Linked DNA regions of Homo sapiens: all the other regions are linked to region 3. Evidence: promoter capture Hi-C in human tissues and cell types (Jung and others, 2019). All regions are on one chromosome and are shown on one strand. Each heading gives the region's core, a stretch centred on a gene start or on the middle of the fragment in contact. The rest is flanking DNA. Distances are from core to core; before and after follow the strand shown. Region 1 overlaps CADM1 (cell adhesion molecule 1). Region 2 overlaps CADM1 (cell adhesion molecule 1). Region 3 holds the start of CADM1 (cell adhesion molecule 1).

Region 1 (4,454 bases), core at 89-2,588, 37 kb before region 3:
CATTTTAAATCCATTTGCTCATGTCAACATCAATGTACTCAGCATTATCTACCAATTAGTAAACCGGAAAATATTCTTTAGATAATCTGAAATCTCAGTAAAATATTCAGCATGCCATTCATTTACTACAAACTGCCCTGTAAAAACAAATTAGCAAAACCAGCTGTCACAGGACAACATAAACATCCATTAATACAACCCAACTACTTCAGTCGCTGGCTAAGGTTTTTCAGGAAAGAGAAAACATGGTGGAAATATAAATCAACAAGACTTTCAAATGTTTAGCACGTGTCTTCAGAATAACATGTTGCACCAATATTAAGGTGTGCATTTACCTTCCCCATGTGTGAGATCAAATTTGGACGAGGAAGAAAAGGGTTAAATGAAACACTCTTCAAAATTCTTTCAATTAGGATCTCGAGTTTTTGTGCTGCAATAAGTCTAGAAGGCCAAAAGAGTTCTAACATTTGTCATGCTTCATAAGGATCAGAAATATCAAAGAGCATGAAAGCTGACCAAATATGAATATGATTATGATTATGCAAAGGAAAATCAATTGAATCGTAGGTCTCAGATTTTGCACAACCCACTTATATACACTGCGGAAAGCACCACCCGAACTTACAGGAAACCTGTGAGTACATCACTTACCAGCCAACATTGACTCGTCCTTTCCACAAATCAGCCTGACAAAATTCTATAATTTAAATATGGCAATATTTCAATAGCCACCTTCCACTTAGGACCCTTTCAGTATTTTTCATTTTAATGCATTAGTTATAAATAAACTGCGGCAGCACCTGTTAAGAGGGATTAAAAATGCTTTTATATTATGAGAGACCGGGTGAGAGCTTGTTCTCTGATGAAGACACTCATGATATGCACAAGACGTCTGTAGTGGAGGAGCAGTATTCTTCAACAATGATTTCGATTTAAGAATCTAAATTAGGCTTCAGTCACTGATGACTACTTCTACCTTCTAAACGATAGGGAACACTTCAGAGTGGGTACCTAACACAAAAACTGCCAATCATGAACTGGAATGAGCTCGAATACGCAAACCCAACTGATTGAAGATAGAAAGGCTTGAAGGTGCAAGGCTGCTCTTTCCTCAGAAGAGCTATGATCCCAAAATGATGGATTAAAGTACCAGAACCAGTACACAAGATGACCACAACAGTTTCACAAAATATTTCCTAAATGCTCATGGGGCCACCCAACTATGAAGCTGTTCAATTTCCAGGACATTTCCATTCTGAGATGCACTAGGCATATTAAGGCATAAAGAAATAAATACACTTGAAAACAGGTGGCGTGTCCCTCAGCCCCTCCTCAAAGGCTGTGTTGAGCATGGAAAAGAGAGAAGCCGTAACAGGGACCACTTAGGCTAAGACCATTGTAATTTTAAAATTGTCTCAAAGGAGAAAAGAAATCTACAATACTCTCATCCTATTCTGAGTGAATGAGTTTACAGGGTTTTCTCCTTACTCTTCAGCAAGCCAAGGCAAACGCCTAAGGACCTTTAAACAAAAGAAAAAAAATCCAAAGAACTTTAAAAATTTTTTAAATCACATACCCAGTCACATCCATACATCCTCTGGAGAGAAGTCATAAAGTTGTCTAAAGTTTACATTTCTCTTCTTAACATTAATTATTAAGAAAAGCATTTCATCTTGATTATAGCCACCAATAAAAGTGAATATATTCTATAAGTACAAAATTTCATAACCAGGTGCTACACTCAGCTTACGGTTTGCATATAGAAAAAGATGTAATAAAACAAAAGCATTCTGTATCTGGTATCTACAAGAAAGATAAGTAAACTGTAATGATAATTTACAATTTTGCACATTTTAATTTCCTACTTCCAGTGTTTACCAAAATTTTATTTAACAGTAAAATAGATTTTGTGAAATAGATACATGTTCATTGGGGGAAAAAATCAAGACACAGAAAATTACAAAGAAGAAAAACTGTGAGCATCACAATCTCAGTCTTATATTCCCAGCACCACGTTACATGAGATGAGACGGGTGCACTGGAAAGAAAAAAGCTTGAAGATAGTAGATTTGAAGCCTTCTCCAAAATAATGAAGACTCTCCTAGAACAGGTGAGTTGTGAAATCCAGAAGAAAAGAACAGACAAAACTTCATGAATAGGATATTTGTTAAAATCCTAAAAGACTTCAATTTTAAAGAAAGGAATTAACAACAGTTTCATGAAAATGGCCAAGGTACCTTATGTCTTACAGGGGTGTGTCTGTGTGAGTGCTGTGCATGTGTTTTTTAAGAAAGGCAAAAGGGTCTATGGATAATGGAAGGGGGACAGCACCTTACTGTAGTTTTGTGGGTTTTGAGTTTTTAGAAAGAGAAATCATACAGGCATGCTCCAAATTTTCATTTATCCCAAGGTTAGTAAATGAACATAAGTCTACAGGAAAACCCAGACTAGGGCATGATACCTGTATTAGTCTGTTCTCATGCTAATAATAAAGACATACCTGAGACTAGGTAATTTATAAAGAAAAAGAGGTATAATGGACTAACAGCTCCACATGGCCAGGGAGGCCTCACAATCATGGCAGAAGGCAAAGGAGGAGCAAAGTTACGTCCTACATGCAGCAGGCAAGAGGGCATGTGCAGGCAAACTCCCCTTTATAAAACCATCAGATGTCATGAGATTTATTCACTATTAAAAGAACAGTACAGAAAAAAACCCACCCCCATGATTAAATTACCTCCCACCGGGTCCCTCCCACAACACGTGGAAATTATGAGAGCTACAGTTCAAGATGAGATTTAGGTGGGGACACAGCCACACCACATCAATACCTAAGATGCAAAATATACATTCTGCACTATTGAACTCTTATAGAAGCTCTGATTTCTACTTCTCTAATTATAAATATGGCTAAGTATACTCACCTTTCATATAAAGCACTTCAGCCACTCCTCTATAAAAAATAATAATAGCTGACATTTACCTACTTACCTAGCACCTTCTATGTCCCAGGCATTGTTCTAATAGTTTTACATATATTAACTCATTTTAATACAACAACTCTATGAGGTGGATGCCATTATCCTTCCCCATTTTATAAATGGAAAGACTGAGGCTCAAAGAGATTGAACAACCTGACTGAGATCATGTAGAAAGGAAGTGGCAGAATCAAGGTGTGAAACCAGGTGGTCAGTCTCTTGTTCCACATAAATAAGCTGTGGGAGGCAGTGCTTTAGGATGACATGAAACTGTAAATTGTCTACATGCATTAAACCGTTTCAAACTACTCTGCTACTTGGTTCTTTATTTAGTTTTTATTCTTTTCCTAATCATGAGGAAGTGAAACTTTTACATAACCATACTATCCTCAACTTCTGGGCTTTTTTTTTTTTTTTTTTTCGAGACAGAGTCTCTCTCTGTTGCCCAAGCTGGAGTGCAGTGGCACTATCTCAGCTCACTGTAACCTCCGCCTCCCAGGTTCAAGAGATTCTCCTGCCTCAGCCTCCCGAGAAGCTGGGATTACAGGCACCCGCCACCATGCCCAGCTAATTTTTGTATTTTTAGTAGAGACGGGCTTTCGCCATGTTGGCCAGGCTGGTCTTGAACTCCTGACCTCAGGTCATCCCACCCGCCTCGGCCTCCCAAATTGCTGGGATTACAGGTATGCGCCACCGTGCCCAGCCCTGGGGCTTTTATTTTACCTTCTGCTTCCATGACCTTGGTCATTAAGCAGAGCAGCAATTTTCTAATCAGCAAAATAAAAAAATAGTAATGCCTACTTTTTACTCTTATCAGCAAAATAAAAATAATAGTAATGCCTACACTGTGAGATATGATACAATGCATGTTAAAGTATTCTGTAAACTACAACATGCCAGACAAACGTTAGCTGCTATTATAATGATTAAACTTTTCATAATGTCATCTTCTCTCCTTCTCCATGTTAGACCACTGGACAGTTCCATTAATTAGGTGTGTTAGGAAAAGAATAAAAACTAAATAAAGAACCAAGTAGCAGAGTAGTTTGAAACTGTCTTCAATAATACTGATTAAACTAGCCATTGGCAATGAAACAACATTCTTGGGAGGGCATTGTGTCAAAAAGCCCATTTAACCAGCCTAATTTATTCTACTGGAAAAAAACCTTTCAGATACTATTAGAAAGTAAGCTATCATCCATTAAAACTAAAGTTGAATGGAAAATTTTTAAGAAATGCAATAGATTTGTCAAAAAGTCAAGTAATATTTCTTACCATTCATTAACAATTATAAAGCACTAAAACTTGAAGCCCTGTACAAATTAGGACATTTGCACAGACCAGAACCATGAAATGCCATATATATATATCATTCAATACATTTACTAAGGGCCTACTATGCAGCAAATAGAACTGCTTTTGTGGAATGATTTTTTTCTTTAAGTGTGCTGTCCTGGTAGAGTTAATAAAAGCTAC
Region 2 (4,325 bases), core at 1,167-3,666, 53 kb before region 3:
CTGTCTGAAAGTCTCGCCTAATTACCAATTTAACAAGGAGCAGAGACCAAGAGGGAAAAAATATCTCATCATCTTTTATGCAGGCACCTTGTCCAATTTCAAGAGCTAACCCCCATCTTAAAACGCCCCAAAATAGATATTGCAAGCCACCAGCGGACCCCAACATAAAGCAAGACTCCTCATTAAAAGTTGGAATGGAACCTGCCAGGTATGCCTGCAGGGATGCTCAACAATAGCGGTTTATATCCCATGCCTTTTTCAACCTAGATTAAATTACTGACAAAATGGACAGACTACCCAAAACTGTGAGCAATACATTTTGCCAATGAAAATAATGATTGTGCTTGGTATAGCACAGATGCTCTCTGCTCAACTTGTCAGCATTTTCAGCTAAGAGGCTCAATGGTCTTACCAGACAACCCTTTCCCTGCCAAAACCAATAAGCCACCTTCATTTCTTAAGCCCCCTCAGGGCTTTGAATTACTATCCATTTTGCACTTAAGGTCAGTCCTGTAAAACTGTGTTTTCCCCCTAGAAGAGTCATAATCAGAAGCAGCTCCAGCCTAACACCAGCCTACTTAAAACTCAGATGGAGAAAATTCAAGAATATGTAAGCTTCTTGTAATTTTCCCCTGTCAGTTTTTCAAATTTGCATTCTTAAAAGTTGCATCTACTGCTTTAGAAGGCAAGGTGCATTTCCCGACAATGCCACCGAAAATGCTTTCGGTGTTTTATACGAAAACATGTATTTCCCTAAGCCAATGTCTAACAGAGGAATATTTCAAAACAGCTAAACTTTATAGTTCCAAACATTCTAGAGAGTTCAACAGTCTCATTATATATTATAGTGACATACACATGTGCACACACATCCCTTAAGTATGCATTTTGCTAGATTTTATTTTTCATTTTATGCCAGGGAAAACACAATTATGCCATATCTCTTTATAGGAAATAAAACCTTTCCAAGAAAAACAAACCTGGCCATTTTTTTTTTCATTCATTCATTCCATTCATTCACTCATGGAATAACTCCTCACTCTAAAAACCTGCTAAAAACGCTGAATGGAAAAAAAGCTGCTTTCACCCCTCCCTATGTCTTTCCATACAACATGAGAATCAGGCATAGTGATTCTGTTTGACCCAGCAAGTTCAACCACCAAAAATAAGGTCCTTTGCCTTAAGGAGGGGTGTGACAGGTGCTAGTTTCAAGAAATAACTTTCAGCCTTCAGTGGAAGATACTGACAAGAGCACCAATCATAAAATACTGGTCCGCACAGGCCCATCTTTCTGTTTCCTTCACTTGCATCCAAATCCAAGTTTCCAGGCCCAGTCACTCCTACTTATCTTTCTACTTCCAGGCCTCCCACAGTTTTTAACTTCATTCATAGCCTTTATTCCTAGTTCTAAAACTGTGCTTCTATCTTAGTAATATGGTAGGAGGAAACCTGCTAAATGCATCCTTGATGCTGATGTGATCTTTCCAGTTATTGAACGTTTCATTGAATTTTACACTATACAACTTCAAATGCGGAAAGCAGCCAATTCATTTTGTTAACTGTTGTTCAGTATAGATAGCCAGCTCCATAACTATACACTTTGATTTGGTACATGAGAAAACGTATTTTTCATTACATCCCTTATCCTCCTAATGACATTTCCAAACAGGATTTTAAGAACTGTGAAGCAGAAATAAAATTATGCTCAAGTTCCAAAGTGATCTCATGGAATGGAAAATGGCTATCATTGCCAGTGAGTATTAACAGGATTCAAAGCTTGCAAGTTTCTAGTTCAGAAACATTTCTCAAATAACGATCATCTTTCAAATGCTCCTTACGTTACCAATCACAACAGAAATTCTATAAAAGAACTTAAGGGACTATGGTGAGATCTTTCCCCCACAACCCCAATTCCTTTATCCTGTATCCAGAGCTCACCATCAGCTTTGGTGTACCTCCTTCCTTTTTAATCATCAATCAAGGCTAACATTTCAGTTATCTGAATTTACACAAAAACCTAAAGGAGCCATTACATTGCTTCTGTAAAGCTCATTCTGTGGTGACTTTTAAATAGCTTTAAGAATAATCTGGAAATAAAAATACTGCTGTAGCAAGTTTTATGTCTTCTACACACATATGCTAGAGCAATTTCCTTCTCCCAGAGATAGAAGGGAGGAAAATGTCTAAACTTCATAATAAGCAGCCAATTATAGTCAACTGTCATCTTGGTTGTATTAATTATCTGCCTTGCCTAAGTTATCAAGACCTGAAAGAAGCCTAACAGCCACTTATTTTATATTACGATTGTTCCACTATGGAAAGGGCTGTAATTTTTTTGAGGGTCTTTCTGCATTGATACAGGTATGTAAGAATTCAGCACAATCCCAGGGTTTTACCACGTGTAGCCATTTGAAGATACCCGTTAAAGCCACAAGGCTAATTTCCCCTTCTTGATTATCCTACATTTGCTGAGGGCTCACAAAGTAGGAGGTCCCAGGCGAAAAAGGACATAGGTAGCAATTTGTGCACAAGTCCTAAACTTCAGTAAGTTGTATGAAACAAAAACATTATGACATTATTAAAGTAGCAGCAGCAACTACTGTTATTCATTCAAACATCCCCTACAGACCACTTAACAGGTATAGTGTAGTCATTGGCTTCAGTTTAAGACATGAGCAATCCCCACAGAGATTGTTCTTGAAGTAGAGACACCATGACCATGGAAATGGGGGAAACAGTTTTCCTTGCTAATTTAGGCATATAAGAGGAGGTTCCTAACCAGCCTGGGCTTCTTTCCTAACTACAGGGAAACAATCAGAGGAGTCAATATGTATAAAACACCGGTGGAATTAGGATTACACTCAGGAAACCATCAAAAGCCAGTCCCCTAGAGAGTCCTGGAAAGAGTCAGGAGAGCATCTGGGGCTGGAGGGGAAAAAAAAAAACTTTTTGGAAATTTCCTCAAGGCAAGAATGGAGGACCCAAAGCTGGCTGTAACTTCTGGAAGAGAAACCGAGGGAGAACTATTCAAGGAATGAATATGGATTAACTTACAAGATATGTCCTCCCAGGTCTAGAAGGTACTCCATTTACTTGTTAACTATCTTGACCACGTTAATTTCTTTTTTAAAATTTCTAAGGTTTGGCGGGGCCAGCGGGGTGGGGTGGTGGGGTGGGGGGGTGGGGGGGCTGGGAATCATCCACAAAGACAAGCTCACTTACACAAGAAATAAAGTGAAAATCACTGGTTTTGACACCCACTTGTTCAGATGACCCAAGATTTCCTCTGATTATGTGAACCAGACTTTTGTTCCAGTCTCCTAGCCCAGAACCTATAAAATCCATTTGAATTACAGCTCACCAACTGCACTTTAACCCGGAAACTAGAGGTGAAAGTCAAGTGCTTTATCTACTCAGACAAGCAGCTTCTCCCCAGATCAGAAGCGTTTTAATGAAATGAGACTTAAGTGAATTGTTGACATAGGCATTAAAAGTTGTCATTTAATATCAACAGTATGTTTGATTTGTACACAGTTATGAAATGTCATTCGGACCAGAGAGTTATATTGAGGTTTACCACATTATAGGGATGGATTTCCAGAGGGAAGTGAGCTGATCTGTCTCAAAATAAAATGTGTTTACATTAACACTTGGGGGAAACAGGCAGCCCTGCAAACATAGATGGAGAGATAAAAATAAGACCAGCACAAAACTCAACTTGGAAGAATAATAGAATAAAATATAATCTCTAGGCTCTGTGCATATGTAATATTTTACTATACTTTTTTTCCACCTTTTAAGAGATAAAGTACAAAGTTTACATTGGTGAGAAATATCACTTCTGGGTAAAATCTATTATACTTTGGTCTCCAAAATAATTTTTAAGGAGAAAGGGTGGGAGTGATTGACATGGGGATGGAAGAAAATACTCAGGAGGTATCATTGCTTTCTTGAAAGAAAAGCCAAACCTATAAGCATGTAATGCTTTGCAGTATAAATATATATAATTAGATAAATTTTATCTAACTAACCAGGTAGATAAAATTACATTACTAGTTAGTCTAGGTGTGATAGAAACATTCTGGCCTCATAGAAAAGGAAGCACTCGACCAGGTGCAGTGGCTCATGCCTACAATCCTAGCACTTTGGGAGACTGAGGCAGGCAGACCGCTTGAGCCCAGGGGTATGAGACCAACCTAGGCAACATGATAAAACTCCATCTCTACAAAATTTACAAAAATTAGTCGGGTGTGGTGGTGCATGCCTGTAGTCTTAGCTACTTGGGAGATGGATTGCTTGAGCCTGGGAGCTCATGGCTGCAGTGA
Region 3 (4,416 bases), core at 9-2,508:
TGGGTGCAGCACAGCCGGCCTCTCCGCTGAGGAAGAGCTCCGGCTCCCTTTTGTTAGCAAAAGCAAACACTGCCCTCTTCTTTCCCGACCGCGCCAACGCGCCCGGCACACGGGCAGCCACACATCGGGCTCCAGCCGAGTGCTCGGTGTCTTCAGGGAAGGCACCGGGCGTGCAGAGCCGCCCCTGGGCAAATTCCCAAGACTGCTCTTCACGCAGGGAGCGCGCGGAGGCCCGCAGGGTGCCCGCCTGGCCGCAGAGGCCGCGACGCCCCCTCCGCCACCCTCGGGCCGCCGAAAGAACGGGCAGCCGGGAAATCCCGTGTCCCCACTCGTGGCAGAGGACGCTGTGGGGCGGGCGGGCTGCGGGCTCCCGGCGCCTTCCCGCAGAGGCGGCGACAGCGGCCGCCCCCCCCGCGGGGCCGGGCCGGGGAACTTTCCCCGCCTGGAGCCGGGCCAAAAAGACCCGCAGCAGAGCCGAGGGGGCGGAGGGCTGCGAACGGCCGGAGGGAAACACGAGAGGCGTGCAGTTTGGGGACAGGGGAGAAAGGCAGAGCGCGTTGGGGGAAGGGGCAGGGGAGATCAGACAAGTCTGGGGATGTCCTGGGGACCGGGGAGAAATCACGCCGCGGGCGGCTGGGAGTCAGCCACCAGGAGGCTTCGGGGATGGAGAACTGGGGGGGCCCTCTGGAGAGGTGGGGGCGAATGGACAGCCCTGGGAGGTGGGAGGACCTGCAAGTTACGGGGAGAACGGCGAGTTTAGAAGGGTCCGGAAGGGTTGAGGTTGTCTTTGAACCATCCCCTTCCCCCATGCTTTACAGCCCCCGGGCCCCCCATTCTCACTCCACTCTGCACCCCGCGCCAAGCCGGGGAGAGAAGGTGTGGGTGCAGCCATCCCTGGGGACTCTCATTCACACTTAGCCGGGCAGGGGAGAAGGGGCTCACAGATGCCCTCAGCCCCTTCCCTCTCAGCCCTGAGTTTCCTCTCCACACTCCCTCCGCTTCGGATGTAGGAAGTGGGGGGAGGTTGTCATGGAAACGTTTCCCCCCTCTGTGGCCAAGGCTACTGGGGTGCCTTCGGAGATTTAGGGGCCAACCGGTCGGTGCCCACACCTACCTGTGGGGATCAGTGCCGCGGCGGAGAAGAGCAACAGCAGAAGCCGGAGCCGGAGCCCGGGAGGCGCCGCCGCCGCCGCTGCCGCCGCACACTGGGATCCGCTCGGCAGCACTACACTCGCCATGTCGGGCACCTGCCTCAGACTGGCGGCGTTGGCTGCCTCCGGAGCCCGAGCGGACAGCTAATGAGATGCTAATGACATGCGCTGGAGGCGGAGTCCGGGCAGACCAATCACAGCGCCGCGAGCCCAACCCGGCTCTCGGAGGGCCTCGCTCCCTCCCCCACCCCGCCCCCTGGCGCTGGCGTTCGGCGGCGCGCCCGCGCCACCTAGGGGCGGGGCCAAGGGGAGGGGCGTATGCAAATATGTTTATGTTAAAATTCGGGTTTTGCTTTCCCCGGATCAAGGAAAAAGTGTTCTCCCGGGCGCCTGGCGTGCAAGGACTCGGGCTCCAGGGGGCGGGTCTAGCTTCTTGTACACCTTTATTAGGAATGTTTATAGCAATCGCTGTATCAGACCGACGACTGGAGAATCTCCCTTAAGAGGGTCCTCTGTCCCGCACACCGAGTGCATCTGGCCTAGCGAACCAGACGTTGCAAATTTCCGTCACTCACCTTGCACCGAAGGAATAGATCTTTGGGAACGGGGGCTGTGCGGGAGTGGAGAGTAAGAAGGCAGGTCCCCGGATTGACAAAACAATCTGGGAGAAGTGCATGCGTGCTTTGCACGTCCGGCGGAGCGGGAGAGCCCGCTCAACAGCCTAGCGGTAGACTCGGGGATAGTTGGAGAAGGCAGCCGTAGAGTCGGGTTCTGAGATTTTCCAGTCGGTCTTTTTGCGGCAGAATCTCGGGAAAGGTAGATCGAGGAGGGTATGCTCAGGCTCCTCCGCTTGTCGAGGGTCTCCTCCCTGGTTTTAATATATAGGTGTGTGTTGAATATATGTGTGAAATATTTGTAATATTAGATATTTAAGATTACACAACAACGGAAAAAATTAGTCAAGGCTTCAGGTGAAGAGCGGGGGTGGTGGGAGTTGGGGAGAGGGAGTGTGGTGAAGGCAGGGTCTGCCGTGTTCCTCCTTCGGGGCTCAAACCCTCTCACTCCTCCTCTGCGCCCCCAGCCCTTCCTAAGGAAGCTGGGGACCAACAGGTGCTCCGAGCTTCCCCTGTCTCTGGGAGAGCCTCTCCTGCTAAAGCGACTTGCATCTCCGGACTCACTCTCCCTCCCCGAAATTCTCTTTGCTTTCTTTTCAGCCAGGCAGCCGGCTCTCTTGTTTGTCTGCTTTTTAATTACTTATTTTCTTCCCCTCTAGAAGATCGTGTGCGCTCTGACCCTCTGTTGCTCAAGCATCAAATTGAAGGACGAGCCATATTAAGTGTAAAGGTTTATAATAATTTAAGTATTCATAGAATGCAGAACAATAAGATGTAGGAAATACAATTTGCATAATAAATATCAATATCACAACAGCTAAAACAAACCATGACAAATTATCTGTGGCTAAATGACCAAGAGATTACTGAATGTAAATTGCTAAGTCTGAGCTATAGTCTAGAAGAGCTGCGCCAAATGACTTCCCCAGCCTTCTGTCCTCATCTTGCTATAAAATAAATAAATAATACATATCAAAAAGGAAGTCATGATCTGCCAACCCACCAAATGAGTTACACTTAAAAACAGCCTCCTATTATCCATTATGCATAAACTAATTTCGAGACTGCCCGGTCTTCACAGCCCTGGATATTCTGCTCTGTAATTACAGGCCCCGATGCATGAACTGCAGGCAGTCCTTCAGAAGTGGGGAAAGCTCCAACAGGAGAACAGCACTACAGGAGACAGGAAACCATTGCCACGTGGGTGCCAGGATAATGCCCAGTCTGCAAAGTCCTACCCGTTCTTACTACCTCTGGCAGTGAGGTACCTGGGTCGGACCAAATAGAGAGCAAAGTTCCACCAAAATTGGAATAAAAAAGTTAAGGCCAGCCGGGCACGCTGACTGATGCCTGTAATCCCAGCACTTTGGGAGGTTGAGGCAGATGGATCACCTGAGGTCAGGAGTTCGAGATCAACCTGGCCAACACGGCGAAACTCCGTCTCTAATAAAAATACAAAAATTAGCCAGGCGTGATGACACACACCTGTAATCCCAGCTACTCAGGAGGCTCAGGCAGGAGGATCACTTGAACCCAGGAGGCGGAGGTTGCAGTGAGCTGAGATCGCATCATTGCACTCCAGCCTGGGCGACAAGAGTGAAACTCCGTCTCAAAAAAAAAAAAGTAAGGCCATATGTATGCTGAAAGTGATATGTAAACTATAAAGGCAGGTCCTATATGGCAAGAATCCTGACACAGAGCCTGGCACATAGTAACATTATTATCTGCCGTTACTATTATTACTACTCTTGCATTCACTGAATTCTTAAGTATTCTACATGCAAAATCTCATTTAATACTTGAAACAATCCCCAAGGTACATACTATTATCTTTCATTTTATATTTTTTAAACATGATTAGAAAGATTAAGTAACTGCCCTAAGATTACAGTCTCTAACTTGCAGAAAGAGCCTATGCAATTAACCACTGTGCCTTTCTAAATATCCGTAAAGTGAATGAATAAATTTCACATTACAATGCATGAATAATAAGCAAAGGATAGCTACATTTTTAACATAAGATGAAAATATGCCAGCAACCCAGAAACATTTTTTTTTTTAACTAACAGAATTGCAGTATACTCCTAAGGAAAAACATTCCTCATGAAGCTGAATCTCCAGGAGAATCTAGCCAGGCCCCAGTCCTCCCACACTCGGAACACAGTATGGGGACATTGGAAGATGTAGGGTGTTTTCATCTCCCTTCATTCTCTTGGCACATCAAATGAACACCTACTCAAATTTCCAGTTGGCAAAGAACAACATGGGACATTTCTGTAGGAAATGCTAATGTCGTATGATTTACCTCACTAGAGGAATGCAAATAGCTTTAGAAATTTCCACCAAAATGTCCCCTGTGCCATAAGGTTAAGGAACTTGCACGTACAATTCCCCAGGTAAAGAAACTGAGTCCTGGGGCACATTTAGACTGGGTCTACATGCAAGAAGCAGAGCAGAGAATTTAGGATTAAGCTGTTTCTAGTCTATCCACTAGCCACACGCCTTTCCTACCCCCAGCTCCTTCACACTGAAGATCTCGCCAAGCAATTTAACATATGGAACATGTGAAGAACGCATCAAATTCCCGCAGCCGCTAAGTACAAGTTATGACTACTCTGGCTTTCTCATAGTAAAGCTCGTCATTTTCTGCT

Evidence for each region. Contacts are between HindIII fragments. The study calls those that stand out against the background at their distance.
Region 1: a contact is called between a fragment that was not itself captured here and the fragment with the promoter of CADM1 in region 3, in 1 of the 25 tissues and cell types used here (aorta).
Region 2: a fragment that was not itself captured here is called in contact with the fragment with the promoter of CADM1 in region 3 in 1 of the 25 tissues and cell types used here (hippocampus).

What each region holds. Positions count from the first base shown.
Region 1 is chr11:115,466,290-115,470,743 of GRCh38, forward strand. All of the region lies in intron 1 of CADM1 (cell adhesion molecule 1), which reads right to left. Among named protein-coding and RNA genes, the nearest start is that of CADM1, 36 kb to the right of the region's middle. The HindIII fragment of the contact is 6,588 bases long and covers 1-4,454 here.
Region 2 is chr11:115,448,988-115,453,312 of GRCh38, forward strand. All of the region lies in intron 1 of CADM1 (cell adhesion molecule 1), which reads right to left. Among named protein-coding and RNA genes, the nearest start is that of CADM1, 53 kb to the right of the region's middle. The HindIII fragment of the contact is 7,902 bases long and covers 1-4,325 here.
Region 3 is chr11:115,503,157-115,507,572 of GRCh38, forward strand. CADM1 (cell adhesion molecule 1) reads right to left here and starts at 1,259. Exons shown (of 12, transcript NM_001301043.2): 1 at 1,115-1,259. The coding sequence starts at 1,238. RefSeq lists a silencer at 1,285-1,444. The HindIII fragment of the contact is 7,329 bases long and covers 1-4,416 here.